Regions from separate parts of the Homo sapiens genome. Here all the other regions are linked to region 1. Evidence: promoter capture Hi-C in human tissues and cell types (Jung and others, 2019). All regions are on one chromosome and are shown on one strand. Each heading gives the region's core, a stretch centred on a gene start or on the middle of the fragment in contact. The rest is flanking DNA. Distances are from core to core; before and after follow the strand shown. Region 1 holds the start of ZNF34 (zinc finger protein 34). Region 2 overlaps ARHGAP39 (Rho GTPase activating protein 39). Region 3 has its middle 22 kb from the start of ZNF250. Region 4 has its middle 22 kb from the start of ZNF16. Region 5 overlaps ARHGAP39 (Rho GTPase activating protein 39). Region 6 overlaps ARHGAP39 (Rho GTPase activating protein 39).

Region 1 (3,474 bases), core at 772-3,271:
GACCTGGCAAACCCTGTAGTCCCAGCTACTCAGAAGGCTGAGGCAGGAGGATCACTTGAATCTAGGAGTTCTGGGCTGTAGTGCTGCTGTGCCAATTGGGTGTCCCCACTAAGTTCGGCATCAATATGGTGACATCCGGGGAGCAGGAGACCACCATATTGCCTAAGGAAGGGTGAATCAGCTCAGGTGGGAAACAGGGCAGGTCAAAACTCCTGTGCTGATCAGTAGTGGGATCACGCCTGCGAGTGGCCACTGCACTCTAGCCTGAGCAACATAGTGAGAACCCCATCTCTAATTTTTTAATTAAGAAAAAATGTAAAGTAAAACAAGACTCTCCCCACAGATTGGGGAAATATAAAATACTTCATAATACCAAATGTTCAGAACACTGTAAACTGGTAGACACTCTAGAAATATGTCTGGCCCTACCTGGTAGAACTGAAACCCTGCAAAACTCTCAGTGGGGAAACCCCACTCGAAGTATGTACTTTATGGAGACTCTTGCTAATGCACACAAAAAGAAACACAAAAATGTTACCATGTGCCTGTGTAGAAGAAGAAAAAACTTCAGCGTCCATCAGCAAAGTCAGAGTGGTGGAAAGTAATGTCAAGGAGATAGAGCACAGTTATAAGGCTGAGAAAAACTGTCAGGTACAGAATATACACAGTATAATACATAGGTAGTTTTTTTTTTTTTTTTTTTTTTTGAGACGGAGTCTTGCTCCATCACCCAGGCTGGAGAGCAGTGGCGGGATCTTGGCTCACTGCAAGCTCCGCCTCCCGAGTTGACGTCATTCTCCTGCCTCAGCCTCCCAAGTAGCTGGGACTACAGGCGCCCGCTACCACGCCCGGCTAATTTTTTTGTATTTTTTAGTAGAGACGGGGTTTCACTGGGTTAGCCAGGATGGTCTCGATCTCCAGACCTAGTGATCCCCCCCGCGCCTTGGCCTCCCAAAGTGCTGGGATTGCAGGCGTGAGCCACCGTGCTCTGCCATACATATGTAGATTTTTAAGAGACAAAAACAGTATTAGGTTTGTAGAGATATAAGAAAACGAGGCCGGGCGCAGTGGCTCACGCCTGTATTCCCAGCACTCTGGGAGGCTGGGGCGGGCAGATCACTTGAGGTCAGGAGTTCGAGACCAGCCTGGCCAACATGGTTAAACCCCATCTCTACTAAAAATACAAAAATTAGCTGGGCATGGTGGCGGGCGCCTGTAATCCCAGGTATTCGGGAGGCTGAGACAGGAGAATCCCTTGAACTCGGGAGGCGGAAGGTGCATTGAGCCGAGATCGCGCCATCGTACTCCAGCCTGGGCGACAGAGCGAGACTCCGTCTCAGAAAAAGAGAGAGAGAAAGGAAAGAAGGAAGAGAAGAGAAAAGAAAAGAAAGAAAAAATAAAGAAGAGAAACAAAAATCTGGCTGCCTGGCTGCGGGGAGAAAAGCCTTGGAGCGCCAGAAGCGAGGAGGGTGGGGCGGAGGGAAGGCACAAGCAGAGGGAGGAGCACTGGCGGAGCGCGGACGCTAAAGGCAGGAGGGGCGGCATTCGCAGAGGGCTGGGAGGACCGCGAGACGCACGAGCCCCGCCCCTGAAAAGCTGACAGGAGAGGAGCGTGGGAGGGAGCCGGGATGGGAAGCCTCGGGCCGCTGGGACCAAGGGGTCTGGAGCGCATCGGGACGCAGAAGCCGCTCTGTGCGGCAGGAGTCCAGGGGACCCCGCGTGGGGCAAGGGAGTTGTCAGGGGCTCGAGAGCGGAAGGAGCCCCGTGAGGAGCGACCCCAGGGCTGGCAGAGAGCGGCGAGGCGCAGTCCGTACTCGGGGCCTTGTCCGGGGGGTCCCTCGAACAGGAAGTGCCGCTGATGGCGGGACGGACCCACGCCTGCAGCACCGCGAGAGGACCGGGCACAGGGGCAACGCGCAGGGGAGGGTCTGCGCCGGGAGGGTCTGCGCCCCGCGCGCCCGCCCCCGCCGGGCTCACACTCACCTCAGCGCCGCCGAGCAGCACGGCAGCCCAACCTCGCCCGTTCGGCCCTCCCTCCCCGCCAATCGGAACCGATCCGGAAGTGACGTCAGCCGACTGTCTGGGTCCGAGGCGCCGTCCGGGCCGCTCTGGGAAGCTAGGACGCCGCGTGTCGGCTGCCCACCTCCCTGGCTTGCAGTAAGGCTCCGGGGACCCGCGAATGGCAAAGCCGTAAAGCGGGAATGCTGCCACCGGGTGGCAGTCCGAAGCCACGGCCCAGAGGCCTCAGAACTGGGGCGATGGTCAGAGGCGAAAACATATTAGTCTTTCCCTTTTTCTGAGAAATTCTCTCCCTAATGATGCACGAAAGGCGCCGCAAACAAGAACTAGGCCCTTCGATTTACAGAGAAACGGGAACCGCACCCTTCCTTAGGGCCAAGAAAGGATGCTTACTGGCCAAAGAAGCCTGTCTTGGGTTTAACCTATTGCTCCTCATCCTTAACTCCTGTAAATGGGGCCCAGTGTCCACTCTGGAGAAAGGGTTTTTCGGGTGCCTGAGCTGCTTCTGGAACAAACTTTCCCTCATGGCCGGTCCATCGGCCAAGCCCTGCCGTCCACTTTGCCCAGAAGGGAGCAGAAAAACAGTGACCGCTTATGGCCAAGCTAAGCATCTAGTGCTTTCCCAAAACCCTCTTTCCAGATGCCCCTCCATCCTTCAGGAGGAAACACCGCCCTCCTGGATTCTTTCTCGACAAGTCAGCTGGGACCCTGGGACCGGCCCTGCGAATGACGAGATCAAAACCAGGTCCCGTAGTTACTGGCGGGGAGGCGGGGCTGGAGTGGGAGGACCACATGAGGCCAGGGGCTTGAGACCAGCCTGGCAATAGCGAGAGCCTGTCTAAAATAAACAGGCCCTGCTGGGTCACTGCCTAGGTGTGGTGGGCGCCCAAAGACAGGTGGGGCCATACCAGCAGGATCAGGAAAGCAAGATCACGAAATGGGGGGTAAGGTTCTCTAGAGACAGCGTGGACCATGACAGCCAGGAACCACCGCGCAGCCAGTTAGGACTTGTCATCCCGGAGTGACCACGGAAGCCTAAGGTGACTATTCTCACCTGCCAGGCACCCTCCAACCAAGTCTATAGGGAGAGACCGTGCCTCATCCTGCCTGCTGCAGTTCCACAGGAGTGTTGTTAGGGGCAGTGATCTGCAGCTGCTGCATTCGCTGGTGGAACTTCCTCGTGTGAAAGTGCTGATAGGATGCTGTCCTGGGATCTCCTCATTGGATCATGGTTAAGGGACAAGATGCCATGGGCTATGGCCAAACAGGAAGCCCCTCCACTCTGCCTTGTGACGGAAACCAGCTTACTTGCCCTCCCATTGCAGGGGGGGTTCCCCAACACTTCCAACCTGATTCCACTCAATCATCACTGTCAGCCTCATCACTACCAAAGCTAGAGAGAACCAAAGTATCAGCCCCTGCCAGCAGGGAAAGGCCATGTGCTTTAAGGTAATC
Region 2 (3,452 bases), core at 156-2,655, 220 kb before region 1:
CCCTGTCTCTCCTAAAACACACAAAAATTAGCCAGGCGTGGAAGCATGTGCATGTAATCCTAGCTACTCGGGAGGCTGAGACAGGAGACTCGCTTGAACCCGGGAGGCAGAGGTTGCCGTGAGCCGAGATTGCGCCATTGCACTCCAGCCTGGGCAACAAGAGTGAATTCCATCTCAAAAAAAAAATTATATACATATAAATTAGCTAGGTGTGGTAATGTGTGCCTGTTGTCTCAGCTACTTGGGAGGCTGAGAGGACTGTCTGGGCCAGGAGGTTGAGGCTGCAGTGAGCCGAGCCTGCATCACTGCACTCCAGCCTGGGCAACGGCAAGGCCTTGCCTCAAAACCAAACCAAACCAAACCCACCACTAGAAAGAAAAAACGCTTCGTGAATTTGAAAGCACAACAACAGAAATGATCCAAAATTAAAGCTACAAAAAACAGAGGAAAAATAAAGAAAAAAGAGAAAGTGGGACTGAGTGCAGTGGTTCATGCCCGTAATTCCAGCATGGTGGGAGGTCAAGGCGGGTGGATCACTTGAGGTCAGGAGTTCAAGGCCAGACTGGGCAATGTGGCGAAACCCCGTCTCTACTAAAAATACAAAAATTAGCCAGGCGCGGTGGCAGGTGTCTGTAGTCCCAGCCACTCGGGAGGCTGAGGCAGGAGAATTGCTTGAACCCAGGAGGTAGAGGTGCAGTGAGCTGAGATTGCACCACTGCACTCCAGCCTGGGTGACAGAGCGAGATTCCATCTTAAAAAACAAAAGAAAAGAAAATGGAAATTATCCCACAGAGTCAGAGAGCTGCAGGATGACTTCAAGTGACCTGACACATAACTGCAGTGCTGGGTGGGGGTGTGAGCACAAACACAGTCTAAAGAAAAGGCCAGGCACAGTGGCTCACACTTGTCGCACTACGGGAGGCTGAGGCGGGAGGATCGCTTGAGCCCAGGAGTTTGAGACCAGCCTGGGAAAAACAGAGAGACCCCAACTCTACAAAAAAAAAAAAAAAAGGCTGGGTACGGAAGTCAGCAAGCTTGTGGTCCCAGCTACTCAGGAAGCAGAGGTGGGAGGATCGCTTGAGCCCAGGAGGTTGACGCCGCCATCATCTGTGATTGCGCCATTGCACTTCAGCCTGGGCTACAGAGCGAGACCCTGTCTCAACAACAAAAAAAGTTTTGTTTTGGGAGAAAAAATGACTGAAAATTTCTCAAACGTGATGAAGACCATAAACTGAGAGGTCCAAGAAGCTACACGAACCCCAGCACAAGGAACACGAAGAAAATGACATAAACCCCTATCTTAATCAAATTGCTTAAAATGAGCAAAATAGAGAAAATAAAGGAGCTAGAGCCAGGTGTGGTGGCTCACTCCTGCAAATCCAGTGCTTTGGGGGCCGAGGCAGGTGGATCGCTTGAGTCCAAGAGTTTGAGACCACCCTGGGCAACATGGTAAAACCCCATCTCTACCAAAAATACAAAAATAAGCTGGGTGTGGTGGTGTGCACCTGTGGTCCCAGGTGCTGAGGTGGGAGGACAGTTTGAGATTGGGAGGCAAAGTGTGCAATGAGCAGAGATCACGCCATTCCACTCCAGCCTGGGTGAAAGAGCCAGACCCTGCCTCAAAAAAATAGAATGAAATTGGCTGGGTATGGTAGCTCATGCCTGTAATCCCGGCACTTTGGGAGGCCAAGGTGGGCAGATCACTTGAGGTCAGGAGTTCGAGGCCAGCCTGGCCAACATGGTGAAACGCCGGCTCTACTAAAAATACAAAATTAGCTGGGCATGGTGGTGTGCGCCTGTAATCCCAGATACTTGGGAGACTGGGGCAGGAGAATTGCTGGAAGCCAGGAGGTGGAGGTTGCAGTGAGCCGAGATCGTGCCACTGCGCTCCAGCCTAGGTGACATAGTGAGACTCCATCTCAAAAAAAGAAAAAAAAAAAAAAGAAATAAAGGAGCTAGAGTTAAAAGACACATTATGTAAAGAAATACAAAGAATGACAGCTGATTTCTTGTTAGAAATGATGCAAGCCAGAAGACAATGAAGTGGCAAAAAGGAATAAATCTTAACCTACACCCAGCAAAAGTAGCTTTCAAAAATGAAAATGAGGCCAGGTGTGGTGGCTGATGTGGGCGGCAAGCCACCCAGGTGCTGAGGCAAGAGACTGAAGGCACGAGCTGTTCCAGTATGATAAAATATATAAAATAAGAATAGTTATACCAGATATAGATCTTAGATATGATTATATATGAATATCATTGATCAATAGTTTGTAGCAATTACTCTTTATTCCAATATTATAATAATCCTTGCTCTACAATCATAACCTAGGAAAAACCAGGCCATACAGAGATAGGAACTGAGGGGACATAGTGAGGAGTGACCAGAAGACAAGAGTGCGAGCCTTCTGTTATGCCCAGACAGGGCCACCAGAGGGCTCCTTGGTCTAGCGGTAACGCCAGCGTCTGGGAAGACACCCGTTGCCAAGCGGACCGTGGTCTAGCAGTAGCGTCAGTATCAAGGGAAAACACCCGCTACTTAGCGGACCAGGAAAGGGAGTCTCCCTTTCCCGGGGGGAGTTTAGAGAAGACTCTACTCCTCCACCTCTTGTGGAGGGCCTGACATCAGTCAGGCTCGCCTGCAGTTATCCAGAGGCCTAACCATCTCCCTGTGATGCTGTGCTTCAGTGGTCACGTTCCTAGTCCACCTTCATGTTCCATCCTGTACACCTGGCTCTGCCTTCTAGATAGCAGTAGAAAATTAGTGAAAGTACTAAAAGTCTCTGATATGCAGAAATAATGGCGTAAGTTGTTTCTCTCTCTCTCTCCTCTCTCTCTGCCTCGGCTGCCAGGCAGGGAAGGGCCCCCTGGCCAGTGGACATGTGACCCACGTGGCTTTACCTATCATTGGAGATGGCTCACTCTCCTTATCCTGCCCCTTTGTCTTGTATCCAATAAATATCAGCGCAGCCTGGCATTCAGGGCCACTACCGGTCTCCATGTCTTGGTGGTAGTGGTCCCCTGGGCCCAGCTGTCTTTTCTTTTATCTCTTTGTCTTGTGTCTTTATTTCTACAATCTCGTCTCCGCACATGGGGAGAAAACCCACTGACCCTGTGGGGCTGGACCCTACAGGCTGATGCCTGTAATCCCAGCACCTTGGGAGGCTGAGGTGGGCAGATCACCTGAGGTCAGGAGTTTGAGATCAGCCTGGCCAACATGGTGAACTCTCGTCTTTGCCAAAAAAATACAAAAATTAGCTGGGTGTGGTGGCACACGCCTGTAGTCCCAGCTACTTGGGAGGCTAAGGCAGGAGAATCACATGAACCTGGCAGGTGGAGGATGCAGTGAGCCGAGATCACACCACTGCACTCCAGCCTGGGTGACAGAGTGAGACTCTGTCTCAAAAAAAAAAAAAAAAAAAAAAAAAGATGGAAGACTTTTTCAAAAACACAAA
Region 3 (3,496 bases), core at 622-3,121, 140 kb after region 1:
TGCAGGAGTCAACCATTGGCCATTATGGTGATTTTGCTTGAAGATGACACCACTCCTGCTGTGCAACAGGCTGTTTTCCTACAGTAGAATCACAATGTGTAATCCTTCCTCCATACAGTATAAAGGGTATATCTCTGGATACAATGTGTAATCCTTCCTCCATACAGTATAAAGGGTATATCTCTGGATACAATGTGTAATCCTTCCTCCATACAGTATAAAGGGTATATCTCTGGATACAATGTGTAATCCTTCCTCCATACAGTATAAAGGGTATATCTCTGGATACAATGTATAATCCTTCCTCCATACAGTATAAAGGGTATATCTCTGGATACAATGTGTAATCCTTCCTCCATACAGTATAAAGGGTATATCTCTGGATACAATGTGTAATCCTTCCTCCTTGCTCATGTGTATTTTTCTGTCCATCTAAACTTGCTAAGGATTCTTTCATGCTCCTGCCAAAAATGGTCCTAGAGAGAGCTTAACAGACATTAAATCTCAGTTTGGAAGTGTTGTCCCTAGGGAACGTATTAAGTGGTGGAAATACATGTGATACATATTTTCCCTTTTTCAAATCTGCATTTTCTAGAATTATGTTGATTTTAAAATTAAAAAAAATTAAATTGGGCAAGTCACATTTGAAATCTGGGCCACAACCCTTTCAAGGGCTTCTGTACAGCATGTGATGACACCACCTCAGTGCTGCAGTCCTGGGTAGGCCCCAGCCCCTGCATGAGGTGAGAAGGGATCACACATGACAGCTGAGGATTGGCAGCACCAGAGTGGGCAGGGGTGGGGGTGGGCACCAGTTGTCACTTGTTCACTGATTAAGCCTGTTATAGGACCAACAGGTTTGTATGCTGGCTGCACAGTAACAGCCCAATGACACTGAGACAGCAGGGATGCAGCAGAGAGTTTAATTATTGCAGGGCACCAAGTAAGGAGATGGGAGGAGACCCTCAAATCCATCTGGGGTTTTTAAGGGGATCATGGAGGGCGAGGGGCTGGAAAATGGGGGTAGTTGATTGGCCAGGGCAAAGGGGATGACATCATCAGGACGTGGAAACTGCATTCTTTGGTGTGGTCAGCTCCTTGTGGCATCTTTCCGACCAGCTCAGTCAGTGGTCTTAAAAGTATGCAGGATCTGAAGGCGTATCTCAAAGGGAAAACTTAACATTTCATGATGTTCAAGTTGTTATCTACAGAGCAGTTCAAGGGAACTATAATCTAGGGCCTGTGTGATTCTAGGCCGTCGGCACCAAATGACTATGTGGAGGCATGTCAGGGAGTAGCTGACCTAATGATGAATGCTGAATGTGCTGCAAGCTTTGTTTATTTTCATTTCCCCCCCTCTTCTTCCCAGATTAATTTGATAAAGTTTATAGGGGCAGTTTCAAGCCATTTTACGAATACCATTCTGAGACACATGCAGCAGCTAGGGCAATGAGTGCATGGCAGGGGCCACATGGCCGCTGCTGGGAGAAAGGGAAGGACCTTTTACGGTGGAAGGTTTGGGGGTCAATACTCAGACTGTCAGTCCCAGCAGATGGAATGAGTGTCTCTTCTCTCCACCCTCCCCTCCTTTTTTGTTTCTCTTCTCCTCTCTCCAATTTCTCTGTTTCATGATCATGAAAGCCCAGTATTTGGTAAGTAATTATGATATTAAGTACTTATCTAAATAATTAAGGGTCTTTTGAGAAAAATAATTAGTCTACTAAGATTTTTATTTTAAAAAAGAAAGGCCAGGTGCTCACCCCTGCAATCCCAGCACTTTGGGAGGCCGAGGTGGGCGGATCACAAGGTCAGGAGATCGAGACCATCCTGGCTAACACGGTGAAACCCCGTCTCTACTGAAAATACAAAAAATTAGCCAGGCATGGTGGCAGGTGCCTGTAGTCTCAGTTTCTTGGGAGGCTGAGGCAGGAGAATGGCATGAACCCGGGAGGCAGAGCTTGCAGTGAGTGGAGATCGCACCACTGCACTGCAGCCTGGGCAACAGAGTGAGACTCCATCTCAAAAAAAAAAAAAAAAAAAAAAAAAAAAGAGCTTTCCTATCATCTTCCTCATGCCCCAGCCCCCACTAAACAGAGACATCTCAGGCTCATGGAGTCAGTAAATGTATGACCTAGGCTTTCTCCATCATATGGACTTGGTATTTGTTCCCTGAGAAACACATTGCTGAGGACATCACCAAGGTCAAAAGGAAGAAACAAATTTGTGATTCACAGAAATTTCAAGACTATTTCTCTTTGGAAACGTGACGACGTACTGAAATTAAAATTCCCTAGGCTTTGGATGAAGCACCCCAACATGTGTCAAATCTGGCTGGATGCTGGGCAGCACCAGAGACCAGGAGGAGCTGGTCATTTACTTGTCCTAGGCAGCACCTTCCTGTGGCCCCTGCACAGTCCACTGCATCCATCAGTGTGGCCACTACCCTGTGCCTCAGCTGCAGTGGGTGTCCTGGTGGCTGTCTCCCAGTGGCATTGAGGTGAGGGGAAGGGCGGACTCACGGGAAGAAACGGAGTTAGAAGGGAGCAAACACAGTCAGGAATGCACAGTCTCTTCTCCACACAGCAGTGATCATATTCAGATGCAAGTCAGGTCATCCTCCTCTGCTCAGAACCCTCCAGGATCTCCCCATCTCACACACAGTAAAAGCCAGTCTTTGTCATGGCCACAGACCTTCATGACACACCCCAGCACCTCTCTCCTTTGCTCACTCTACTCCTAGCCATGCTGCCCTGAAACACTCCAGGTCTCAGGCCTGGTGTCCCATTAACTATTCTCTCTGCCTGATACGTGAATATCCTTTTATTTTCACTTGACACTCTCTCACGTGCTTTGCATCACTGCTCAAATGTCATCTCAGTGAGACCTTCCCTGATTGTCCCCATTTAAAACCAAACCCCTCCTGGACCCCACATGGACCCCAATCCCTCCCTGCTTTAGTGTTGCTTTCCAGCAATCATCACCATCAGGTCATTTTCTCTTCCCACTGGCACCTAAACTCCACAAGGCAGACACTTATGCCTCTCTTGTTCCTGTTGTATCCTTGCACCTTGGCGCCTCATGCCTGGCAGATAGAAAGCATTCAACAAGTGTTTACTGGAACAATGAGTAATCAAATCCAGGCTAGAAAGGGAGAAACATGAGGCCAGAGAGGAGCCTGACTGATGAGGCACATGTCAGCAGATTGGCCAGCATGATGTTGAAAGACTGGGCAGGCGAGTTAGGAGGGTAACAGGGCCATGCTGCTGTTGAAATTCTGGGTGTTGCCTTGGGAAAGGGCGCTGTAGTGGAGGTGACGGTGAGACCTGGGGTGGGGTGTGTGGGCAGCCAACACCTTGTGGGTGGAGTGCCGGCCTCTGAGGTGAGCACAGGCTCAAGCCTGTGGGACCGACCTTCCCATCTTCAAGTCGACACTTCCACACTTTCTTCTCTCTTCAAATTTCTCACAACCTCTCCCTCCCCATTTGCAACTGAGGAC
Region 4 (3,661 bases), core at 564-3,063, 190 kb after region 1:
CTGATAAAGACTTTAGTGGGCGGTCTACCTATTTCAGTCCATAGTCACCATCATCATTACTCAGGGTCAAAACCTCTATGGTCAAACCATTCTCATTACTGTTGTGGCCCTGGGCCTGTTACAGTGACAACTTCCCTGTCTATGACAGGGTTACATGCTGCCATCTGGTCCTGACCATTCCCACTGAGTTAAATCCTCTTTTCTTTCTCTTCTTTCTTTCCTTCTCTTTTCTTTCCTTTTTCTTTCCTTCCTCTCTTTCCTTTCCCCTTTCTTCCTTCCTTCCCTTTCCTTTTTCTTTCTTCCTTCTCTCTCTCTCCCCCTCCCTCCCTTCCTCTTTTTTTTTTTTTTTTGAGGGGAGTCTTGCTCTGTCACCCAGGCTGGTGTGCAGTGGCGTGATCTTGGTTGACTACAGCCTCCATCTCCCAGGTTCAAGTGATTCTCCTGCCTCAGCCTCCCGAGTAGCTGGGATTTACATGCACCTGCCACCCTGCCTGGCTAATTTTTGTATTTTTAGTACAGACGGCATTTCACCATGTTGTCCAGGCTGGTTTCAAACTCCTGACTTCAAGTGATCCACCTGCCTTGGCCTCTAAAGTGCTGGGATTACAGATGTGAGCCACTGCGCCCAGCCTAAATCCATTTTCATAACAGTCTCTCCTACTTCCTTTGATAGACTATATAAAACAGCCACTACAGAGTCTTTCCTGGACGTTACTATTCCCTCATCAATGCACTTCTCTAAGCCTGGGTGAAAGGAGTGCCCTCTTGCACCTCCTGAACCTTTGAATCCATTCTCTGTTGTAAAATCAGGCAATTCTGCATGTCAGCCTCACTCAATGGAGGCCATGACCAAATATAGACTTCCATTAACAAGCTGCTACTGCAACTAGCACAGTGAATCCACAGCCTGCCATGTGTGCACTCATATAACAAACCCAGTCCAATCCAACATTACATTATCTCTAGTTGAACAGCCTTAGAATCTGCTCCCTTTCATATCACCCACACTTCTGCCAACAGTAAGCTGGAAAAATCTTCCAATTATTTGGCACTCTCTCTCTCAGGTCACACTTTTCCCTCATTTCCCAGGTCTCCTGGAGTTTCACTACAGGAAGCAATCAAAGTTGGTCGATATTGGGAACAATCCACACTCCCCTGCAAAGTGACAGCTTTAAGAATAATGTGTGTAGCTGCAGGTAATTGATTTTGACGTAGTTTTCTGCTATATTATACTTACAATCAAACTTCTTTTCTCCCCCTCTCCATGAACACTGGACTTGTTTTTTTTTCTTTTTTTTTTTTTGTTGCTATTACAGGAACAGCTGCTATTAAACATTTTGGGACACATCTTCTAGTTCTCATGCAAGTACATCCCCAACATGTATGTGCAGGAGTGGAACTGGGTTGTGGGTTACATAATTTTTTTTTTGAGACGAAGTCTCGCTTTGTCGCCCAGGCTGGAGTGCAGGGGCGCGATCTCAGCTCACTATAACCCCCGCCTCCCAGGTTCAAGCGATTCTCCTGCCTCAGCCTCCTGAGTAGCTGGGATTACAGGCTCCCACCACACCACCTGGCTAATTATTTTAGTAGAGACAGGGTTTTGCCGTGTTGGCCAGGCTGGCCTCAAACTCCTGACCTCAGGTGATCCACCTGCCTTGGCCTCCCAAAGTGCTGGGATTACAGGTGTGAGCCAGTGCATCTGGCCAGGGCTAATTTTTAACTGTATTAATAATGCCAAAATATTTTCCAATGTGTCATACCAATTTCCACTCCTATCAGCCGCGTATGAGAGTAACTGTTGCTAAATATATTTGGTGTCATTCTCTGTCAGATCTTTAATTTTTGCCAACCTAGTGAGGGTAAAATGACATCTTGTAATATCATTTTGCATGTCTGTGATTAATAATGACCTTTGCCCCTCTTTTCATACAGGTTGGTCATGGGAGGGTTTTGGGTGATGAAGAAGCCTTGGCAGGTTTCGTGGCAGAGAAAAATCCAACTAAGTCATGCTGCCTGGAGAGTCAGGGCCTCATAAATTGGGATTAGAGGCAGGAGTTTTAGTCCTAAAGATCTTACAGATTCCCAACCATACAAAGTGCCTCCCACCTTACATGAAAATGGGCAATAATGGAATCCACTGATTACATTTTAATGTTTGTGAATACACATATAAAACACACATTAACCTTAACAATTGGTGGGGAAGATTGGCAGCACAGGACTATGCACAACAAATTAGCAGGCACTAAGGCAGAATATCTTTTACAGCAGAAAGACCAAATCTGTCCCTTTCTGATGCACATCTTCAGTTTTGGGTCATGAGCTAGTGGTGGAGGTCAAGGCCAAGGTCAACCTAAGAAGTCTACAATAGCATGCATCAATGGAAATGCTGCAGAACAAACATGGAGGAAAAAGTAAAAATGCTCTTGTAACCATCAACACCTGCAAATATGCCACTTACTCTTTTTCTCTTGTGAGTGCAGTGAGCATGACTAAACACAGTAGCTCTCTGGGAAGAGCAAGAATAAAGGAGTCTTCAGAATGAGTTGTAAGATATGTATGATGCTTACAAAGTGGAGTTCACAATTGTCCTGTTTAATGTCAGTCTCCTTATTTTAAGAATGCTTCAGGTGACAAAGGCCTGTGTCAGCAGTATGGATCATGATGAGATTCCTGGAAGGCTGAACCTCTGCTGGTACAGGCATAAAACTCCTCCAGAAATGGCTTCTTTTTATTAACTAAAGAAACTGAAAATGCCTTTCTCCTCTCAATTTTAATGTAAGTGGTTAAGAAGCCAGGAGAGGCCGGTGTGGTGGTACACAGCTGTAGTCCCTGCTACTCATGAAGTTGAGGCAGGGGAATCACTTGAGCCCAGGAGTTCAAGGTTACAGTGAGCTATGACTGCACCACTGCACTCCACCCTGTGCAACATGATACAGCATGATACTGTCTCAAAAAAAAATGCTAGGAAGTACCAAGTGTATGATTGCTCTATGCCAATCATCAAATAGAGCAGAGACCATCTAGCTCCCAACCAATATTAATGCCATCACCAAGCCAAGTAATTAGGAAACAGAAATTTGACTTGAATAGAGAACATTAAAAGCCATGATAAATAAAATTCAGTATGATTTGGATGAAATATTTAATGGAAAATAAAAACATATTCCAAACTGATAAGGTTAATCTGGAGAAATGTTTTAGCCATAAAACCCAAAACCGGATTTGAGTAAATACCGAGGTTCTTAGTTAAGTAAACACCTCCATCTTATGTAAACAGGTTTAAAACAAAAAAAATATTATTTTCTGATTTGGTTGTGTAATCGTGGGCCTCAGAGGAAAAGCTTCCTAACCCTTTTGTCATATATATATATATTTTTTGGAGTCTTGCTTTGTGGCCATGCTGGAATGCAGTGGTGCAATCTTGGCTCACTGCTACCTCCGCCTCCTGGGTTCAAGCAATTCTCCTGCCTCAGCCTCCCAAGTAGCTGGGACTACAGGCGTGCACCACCATGCCCAGCTAATTTTTGCATTTTGTAGAAATGTGGTTTCACCATGTTGGCCAGGATGGTCTTGATCTCTTGACCTCGTGATCTGCCCACTTCAGCCTCCCAAAGTGCTGGGATTACAGGTGTGAGACACCGCGCCCAGCCTCCTTTTG
Region 5 (3,440 bases), core at 546-3,045, 190 kb before region 1:
GGGGTCAAGACTGTAATCAATGGGGCCGGGATTGCTGACTTGGGTTGATATGAAAAAGTCTGATCAAATGGGAAAGGCAAAACTTTAAGACTTTTAGAAGAAAATACGTGAAGAATTTCAGGAGCTCAGTTAGGAAAGGGCTTCCTGAGTAAGACAGGAAGAGAAAAGGCAGGTGGACAGAGAACGCTGGAGCTCAACACGTTGGCTCATCAAAAGCCACCAGCACTGACACAAAGGCGTGAGCACAGATGGAGACCATAATCCAGGCTCAGTCAACATGCAACGGTACCCGGAACAGACAGGGATGCGTCCACACCACAAAGGCTAAAAAAGATGATTAAATGGAAGAAAAGGCCGGAGGAGATTCCCAGAGGTGGAAACCTGAGGGCTAAGAACACACGGAGATGCTCAAACCCACCAGGTAGGAAGCCACGCAGACCCACCCGCCAGCAGGGAAGGAGAGTCCGGCCAGAGTAGGAGCTCCGTGGTGGGGAAGGAGCAGCCCGGGGAAGTCCAGAGGGCGCCCGGCATGGCCTCGAAGGCTGGACACCTGCGGGGCCCTTTCCGCATTGCGTGTAAAGGGGAAATTCGGAACCCAGCCGTGGGCCTTTCCGCGTTGAGTGTAAAGGGGAAACTCGGAACCCAGCCGTGGGCCTTTCCACGTTGCGTGTAAAGGGGAAACTCGGAACCCAGCCGTGGGCTTTTCCACGTTGTGTGTAAAGGGGAAACTCGGAACTCAGCTGTGGGTGTCAGTGGAGGGATACCAAGGTGCCACATGAGGACACATGAGCCCCAGGGAGGCTGGGAAGGAGCAGAAGAGACTCTCGATGAGTCAGGTGTGGCTGGGCACAGGACAGGAGGCCAGCAGGACCAGACAGACGGGCAGAAGCAGCCCCAGCTCCTTACAGAGCCCGGGGCATGAGAGAAGGCACAGTGCCCCTCACAGAGCACAGGCAGCCTCAGCCTCTAACAAATGGCACGGGGACAGCCGGATGCATGTGGAAAACAAACAGGTCAGATCACACCTCACACCACACACAAGAACCAAGGCGGATCTGAGACCCAAAGGCAAAAACAAAAGTATGTCAGCCCATGAGCAGGTGCCACGTGCTCTTTCTCCAGTCACCTGGATGGAGGTGACTAAAACACAGAGGCACTGAAGAAAGGATGGCCAACCTGACTACACAAAGATTCAAAACCTTTCACATGCAAAAGCCACTACAAATAAAACAGATTTTGGCTTTTCAGACACATTTAGTGGAACATTTACAATAAGAGCTCATGTCTTTAATATATAAATTTGAGCATGAAAAGATAAAAAATACTATAGAAAAAGAGCAAAAGATAAGAGCATGCAATTCACAAAGTGAACAGTAATACACGGAGGGTAACTACTTCAGTGATCATCAGAGCCCCAAAGCCCAGGCTGCATGGAGACCCCAGGCACCTGCCCACACATCTGACAGCAGGCAGCTGTTGACGGCCCCGATGGCCCGGGGTTGGTGCTGCTCACAGAAGCCCCAAGGACAGCACATCCAAAGGCATCCTTGGACCTAGCAGTCCCTCGTCAGAAATTCACCTGCAGATGCACCTCCCAAAACCCAGAATTATACAAGCAGACTGCAGCAGTCCTTGTAATTGCAGAATATGCGAAATTACCCATATGGCCAACACAAGACTGAGGCACACACACAATAGAGGCCCAGGAAGCTTTGAAAAAGGACGACAATCTCGATGGTCTGGGAGGCAGTGATGTCTAGGGGATGTTTTAAGTGGAAAAAGCAAATTGTGCAAAGAACACATAAATCATGATACCATTAGTGTAAGAATGAAGGGGAAATAAGAAAACATACTAACATCTGTTTATTCTTCACAATAGAAACCCAGGAGATAAACAGAAAACAAGAGAGTTTCTGCCTGCAGCAGGTAGGCAGGTGCAGAAAGGGCACGGGGAAGAGGCCTGGCTGAATGTGCCTGTGTACGGTTGGGGCTTTGGGAACGTGCGAATGGTCTATATGTTTAAAAGACAAAATTATATCAGGAAGAATAAAAAGGGGGACAAAAAAATCTCTAACTGAAAGTAATGAACCAACGGATGCCAGAACCATAATGAAGAAAAGAGAAAGAGCTAATCCAAACAACTTAGGAACACAGGATGAGCCAGTGTCGCATTCCTGGGAGACACGTGCACATGAGGGAATGCAAATGAACCCTGGCTTTTTTTAGTGCATATATTTTTGTAGTGGAATGGGTGAAGCAATTCTGAACCAATTTTAGATGAATTATCAGATGAGCAAGTGAGTAAACACACTGGTGTTCTTGGGAGCCAGGGAAGAAGAGATGTGATGGAAGAGGGGACCACAGAGCAACTCTCTGTGGGAGGGACGGGACTGGGGCACCGTGTGTGCTCAGCATTTCTAGGAGGCGTTTGTGCGCGTGGAGGCATGCATGCATGTTCATGTACCTGTGTGCGTGTGCATGGAGGCATGTGTGCGCACTTGTGTACCTATGTGTGCGTAGAGACGAGTGTGCGAGCTCATGTACCTACCTGTGTGTGTGCGTGGAGGCGTGTGTGCGCACTTGTGTACCTACCTGCGTGTGCGTGTGTGTGGGGGGCATGTGTGCAAGCTCGTGTACCTACCTGCGTGTGCGTGTGCGTGGGGGTGTCTGTGTGCTCCTGTACCCACCTGCGTGTGCGTGTGCATGGAGGCGTGCGTGTGCACTTGTGTACCTGAGTGTGCATGTGCGTGGAGGCATGCGTGCACACTTGGGTACCTACCTGCGTGTGTGGAGGCGTGTGTGTGCACTTGTGTACCTGAGTGTGCGTGTTCGTGGAGGCGTGCATGTGCACTTGGGTACCTACCTGCGTGTGCATCGAGGCGTGTGTGCACACTTGGGTACCTACCTGCGTGTGCGTGGAGGCGTGCGTGTGCACTTGTGTACCTGAGTGTGCGTGTGCGTGGAGGCGTGCATGTGCACTTGTATACCTGAGTGTGCGTGTTCGTGGAGGCGTGCGTGCGCACTTGGGTACCTACCTGCGTGTGCATGGAGGTGTGCGTGCACACTTGTGTACCTGCGTGTGCGTGTGCGTGGAGACGTGCGTGTGCACTTGTGTACCTGAGTGTGCGTGTTCAAGGCGTGCGTGCGCACTTGTGTACCTACCTGCGTGTGCATGGAGGCATGCGCGTGAGCTCATCTACCTACCTGCGCGTGTGTGTGCGTGGAGGCGTGTGTGTGCTCGTGTACCTGTGTGTGTGCATGGAAGCGTGCGTGCGTGCTCGTGTACCTGTGCGTGTGCGTGGTGTGTGCAAGCTCATGTACCTGTGTGTGTGTGGAGGCATGTGTGTGCTCGTATACCTGTGTGCATGTGCGTGGAGGTGTGTGTGCGAGCTCATGTACCTGTGTGTGTGCGTGGAGGCGTGTGCTCGTGTACCTGTGTG
Region 6 (3,455 bases), core at 335-2,834, 150 kb before region 1:
CAGGCCTCTGCAGGCGCAGTCTCCACTCCTGTCTGGAACTCCAGGCCTCTGCAGGCGCAGTCTCCACTCCTGTCTGGAACTCCAGGCCTCTGCAGGCGCAGTCTCCACTCCTGTCTGGAACTCCAGGCCTCTGCAGGCGCAGTCTCCACTCCTGTCTGGAACTCCAGGCCTCTGCAGGCGCAGTCTCCACTCCTGTCTGGAACTCCAGGCCTCTGCAGGCGCAGTCTCCACTCCTGTCTGGAACTCCAGGCCTCTGCAGGCGCAGTCTCCACTCCTGTCTGGAACTCCAGGCCTCTGCAGGCGCAGTCTCCACTCCTGTCTGGAACTCCAGGCCTCTGCAGGCGCAGTCTCCACTCCTGTCTGGAACTCCAGGCCTCTGCAGGCGCAGTCTCCACTCCTGTCTGGAACTCCAGGCCTCTGCAGGCGCAGTCTCCACTCCTGTCTGGAACTCCAGGCCTCTGCAGGCGCAGTCTCCACTCCTGTCTGGAACTCCAGGCCTCTGCAGGCGCAGTCTCCACTCGGCTCCCGGGAACTCCAGGCCCTGTGCGGGTGTAGTCTCCACTCCTGTCTGGAACACTTCCCTGCACATTCTGGCCTTGGGTAACTTCTGTCTCTCCTTCAGGACTAAGCTCACACATTCACTTCTCAGGGAAACATTCTCGAATCCCTAATCTAGGTGTTCCCACAAAGGATTCTGGTGATACTGTAAAATGTGTGCTTGGTCTTCATCCCACCCTGGCACGCAGCTCCTAAAATGCTTAGAATCTCCATGGTTATGTTGTTTTGTACATTAGTGAGTTGACTCAGGGCTGCAGCCCCTAGGTGGCTTGAGGATGGGGTAGGTCACCAGAAAGACCAACGCACGATTAGAGGGGTGGAATTTTCAGCTGCACTCCCCATGGGGGGAGGCGAAAGAGGCTGAAGGTTAAGTTGGTCACCAACGGTTTAAGCAATCATGCCTATGTAATGACGCTTCCATAAAACCCCAAAAGGACAGCGTTCAAGAAGCTTCCAGAGAGCTGAACACATGGGGGGAGGTTTCTGGAGAACAGTGCACCTAGGGAGGGCATGGAAGTTCCAGGCCCTTTCCCCACACCTCACCCTACGCTTCTCTTCATCTGTATCCTTTGTAATATCCTCCATGATAAACATCAATGTAAGCTTCCCAAAATTCTATGAGTCACTCTTGAAAATCAGTCAGACCCAAGGAGGGGGTGTGGGAACCCCGATTTGTACCTGGTTGGTCAGAGCTCGGGTGAATTATCCCTGGGCTTGTGATGGGCACTGGAAGTGGGGGTGGTCTTGGGGAGCTGAGCGCTTACCCGGTGGGATCTGAGTCTCCCGCTAGGTAGACAGTGTGGAGACTGAATTAGAGGGGGGCTGAGGCTACCGCCAGGTAGACAGTGTGAGGACTGACTTACAGGGTGGCTGAACACTCACCCAGTAGGATCTGAGGCTACCGCCAGGTAGACAGTGTGGGGACTGAATTAGAGGGGGGCTGAGGCTACCGCCAGGTAGACAGTGTGGGGACTGAATTAGAGGGGGGCTGAGGCTACCGCCAGGTAGACAGTGTGGGGACTGAATTAGAGGGGGGCTGAGGCTACCGCCAGGTAGACAGTGTGGGGACTGAATTAGAGGGGGGCTGAGGCTACCGCCAGGTAGACAGTGTGGGGACTGAATTAGAGGGGGCTGAGCACTTACCCGGTGGGATCTGAGGCTACCACCAGGCAGACAGTGTGAGGACTGAATTAGAGGGGGGCTGAATCTCCTGCCAGGTAAGACAGTGTGGGGACCGACTTAGAGGACACCCAGCTGGTGTCTGCTGTGGGACTGATTTGTGGCTGGTATGGAGAAACCCTTCTTGGTGACCACAGGTAGATAATTCTTCTGTGTTGATTCTTACGGGGTGAGTGCAGAAGAAAAACTTCTTAAAACTCAATACTCAGCTAATGTTAGTGGAGGATTAGCAATTAAGAGTGGGAAAGGGGTAGGAAAATGTAAACTCACAATTGAACTGCCTGGGTTAGTTTGTTTTGTTTTTACTGAGGGACTAGGGGGAGGAGTACAGAAGGAACAGAAAAGATGACAAAAGGAAGAAACTATGGGGTCTGCAGGAACCCTACACACCAGGCCAAGCTCCCGACAGCCCCAATCCTCCCTGCGATGCAGGCGATGTGAAGATGCCCAGGAGGGCGGGACGCCTGGTACATCAGAGCAGATGCTAACACAGACACAGCATTACCAAACCCCATTTTCACTTCTGCAGGATAAAGTATGCATGACATCTGCTAGCTCTGCACACTTGCATCTTTAACCAAACTAGCCTTGTACATGTTTAAAGGACCAAGGTGGTTCCCAGCCTTGGAGCATCGCCGGGGTGACACTCCCGCACCCCAGGCTCAGCACCCTCCATTTACCACCTTGTTTTGGTAAGGAACATTTCAGTCACTTCCAGAAAAAAGATGCCTGAGGCCTTTGATAGTTTCAAAGGGTAAAGAATACTACAAAGGAAATCACTTTCCATCAGAATTTTGAACTTACTGCTTCACAGACTTCCAAACTCCAGAACTGCTATTAAGAAGTCCAAAGTTATTCTGACCCTCAATCCTGGAATGCAATCTGTGTCTTTCTGGAAGCTTTCCGAATCTTCAATCTGTTCTCAGGGTCTAGGATTTCCAGACGCCGTGTCTTTGTGTCTTTGTACCAGTCTGTTTTCACACAGTGTGTGGGTGTCTGGTGGACTCTGGGACATTTTGTTCAGTGACTTTCTCTCATTGATGTTTCTTCCATCTCATTCCTAAAACTTTTACTATCCAGGTACTGGACTCTCTAGACTGGTCCTTGAATATTCTTTTCTCCTATTCTCCAACTCCAAATTTTTGCTCTATTTTCTGAGAGATTCTCAACTTTATCTTGCAACCCATGCTTCTGTTTAGTCTTTTTTTTCTTTTGAACCCTACAAAGATTATTTCATTGCTGGGCGCAGTGGCTCACGCCTGTAATCCCAGCACTTTGGGAGGCTGAGGTGAGCGGATCATGAGGTCAAGAGATTGAGATTATCCTGGCCAACATGGTGAAACCCGGTCTCTACTAAAAATACAAAAATTAGCTGGGCATGGTGGCGGGTGCCTGTAATCCCAGCTACTCAGGAGGTTGAGGCAGGAAAATCGCTTCAACCCGGGAGGCAGAGGTTGCAGTGAGCCAAGGTCACGCCACTGCACTTCAGCCTGGCAACAGAGCGAGACTCTGTCTCAAAAAACAAACAAACAAAAAACAATTATTTCATGCAATGTTTATAGACTTAGAGATGTGTTTACGTTTTGCTAACCATTTCTTTTTGCATCTCTCTCTCTCTCTTTTTTTTTTAGACGGTCTTGCTCGGTTGCCCAGGCTGGAGTGCAGTGGCACCATCATGCCTCACAGCAACCTCAAACTCCTGGGCTCAAGTGACCCTC

Evidence for each region. Contacts are between HindIII fragments. The study calls those that stand out against the background at their distance.
Region 2: a fragment that was not itself captured here is called in contact with the fragment with the promoter of ZNF34 in region 1 in 2 of the 25 tissues and cell types used here (H1 embryonic stem cells and dorsolateral prefrontal cortex).
Region 3: a contact is called between a fragment that was not itself captured here and the fragment with the promoter of ZNF34 in region 1, in 2 of the 25 tissues and cell types used here (dorsolateral prefrontal cortex and spleen).
Region 4: a contact is called between a fragment that was not itself captured here and the fragment with the promoter of ZNF34 in region 1, in 2 of the 25 tissues and cell types used here (dorsolateral prefrontal cortex and mesendoderm cells).
Region 5: a fragment that was not itself captured here is called in contact with the fragment with the promoter of ZNF34 in region 1 in 2 of the 25 tissues and cell types used here (lymphoblastoid cells and spleen).
Region 6: a contact is called between a fragment that was not itself captured here and the fragment with the promoter of ZNF34 in region 1, in 4 of the 25 tissues and cell types used here (IMR-90 fibroblasts, bladder, dorsolateral prefrontal cortex and 1 more).

The regions. Positions count from the first base shown.
Region 1 is chr8:144,785,296-144,788,769 of GRCh38, forward strand. ZNF34 (zinc finger protein 34) reads right to left here and starts at 2,022. Exons shown (of 6, transcript NM_001286769.2): 1 at 1,984-2,022. It also overlaps the pseudogene RN7SL395P. RefSeq lists a silencer at 1,751-2,110 and enhancers at 2,261-2,490, 2,531-2,590. The HindIII fragment of the contact is 13,629 bases long and covers 1-3,474 here.
Region 2 is chr8:144,564,934-144,568,385 of GRCh38, forward strand. All of the region lies in intron 3 of ARHGAP39 (Rho GTPase activating protein 39), which reads right to left. Among named protein-coding and RNA genes, the nearest start is that of C8orf82, 38 kb to the left of the region's middle. The HindIII fragment of the contact is 3,546 bases long and covers 1-3,178 here.
Region 3 is chr8:144,921,524-144,925,019 of GRCh38, forward strand. No RefSeq gene overlaps it. Among named protein-coding and RNA genes, the nearest start is that of ZNF250, 22 kb to the left of the region's middle. The HindIII fragment of the contact is 8,062 bases long and covers 1-3,496 here.
Region 4 is chr8:144,971,461-144,975,121 of GRCh38, forward strand. It overlaps the pseudogene ZNF252P. Among named protein-coding and RNA genes, the nearest start is that of ZNF16, 22 kb to the left of the region's middle. The HindIII fragment of the contact is 3,961 bases long and covers 1-3,661 here.
Region 5 is chr8:144,597,603-144,601,042 of GRCh38, forward strand. The region is part of intron 2 of ARHGAP39 (Rho GTPase activating protein 39); the gene reads right to left. Among named protein-coding and RNA genes, the nearest start is that of C8orf82, 70 kb to the left of the region's middle. The HindIII fragment of the contact is 8,983 bases long and covers 1-3,440 here.
Region 6 is chr8:144,634,356-144,637,810 of GRCh38, forward strand. The region is part of intron 1 of ARHGAP39 (Rho GTPase activating protein 39); the gene reads right to left. Among named protein-coding and RNA genes, the nearest start is that of ARHGAP39, 50 kb to the right of the region's middle. The HindIII fragment of the contact is 4,920 bases long and covers 1-3,455 here.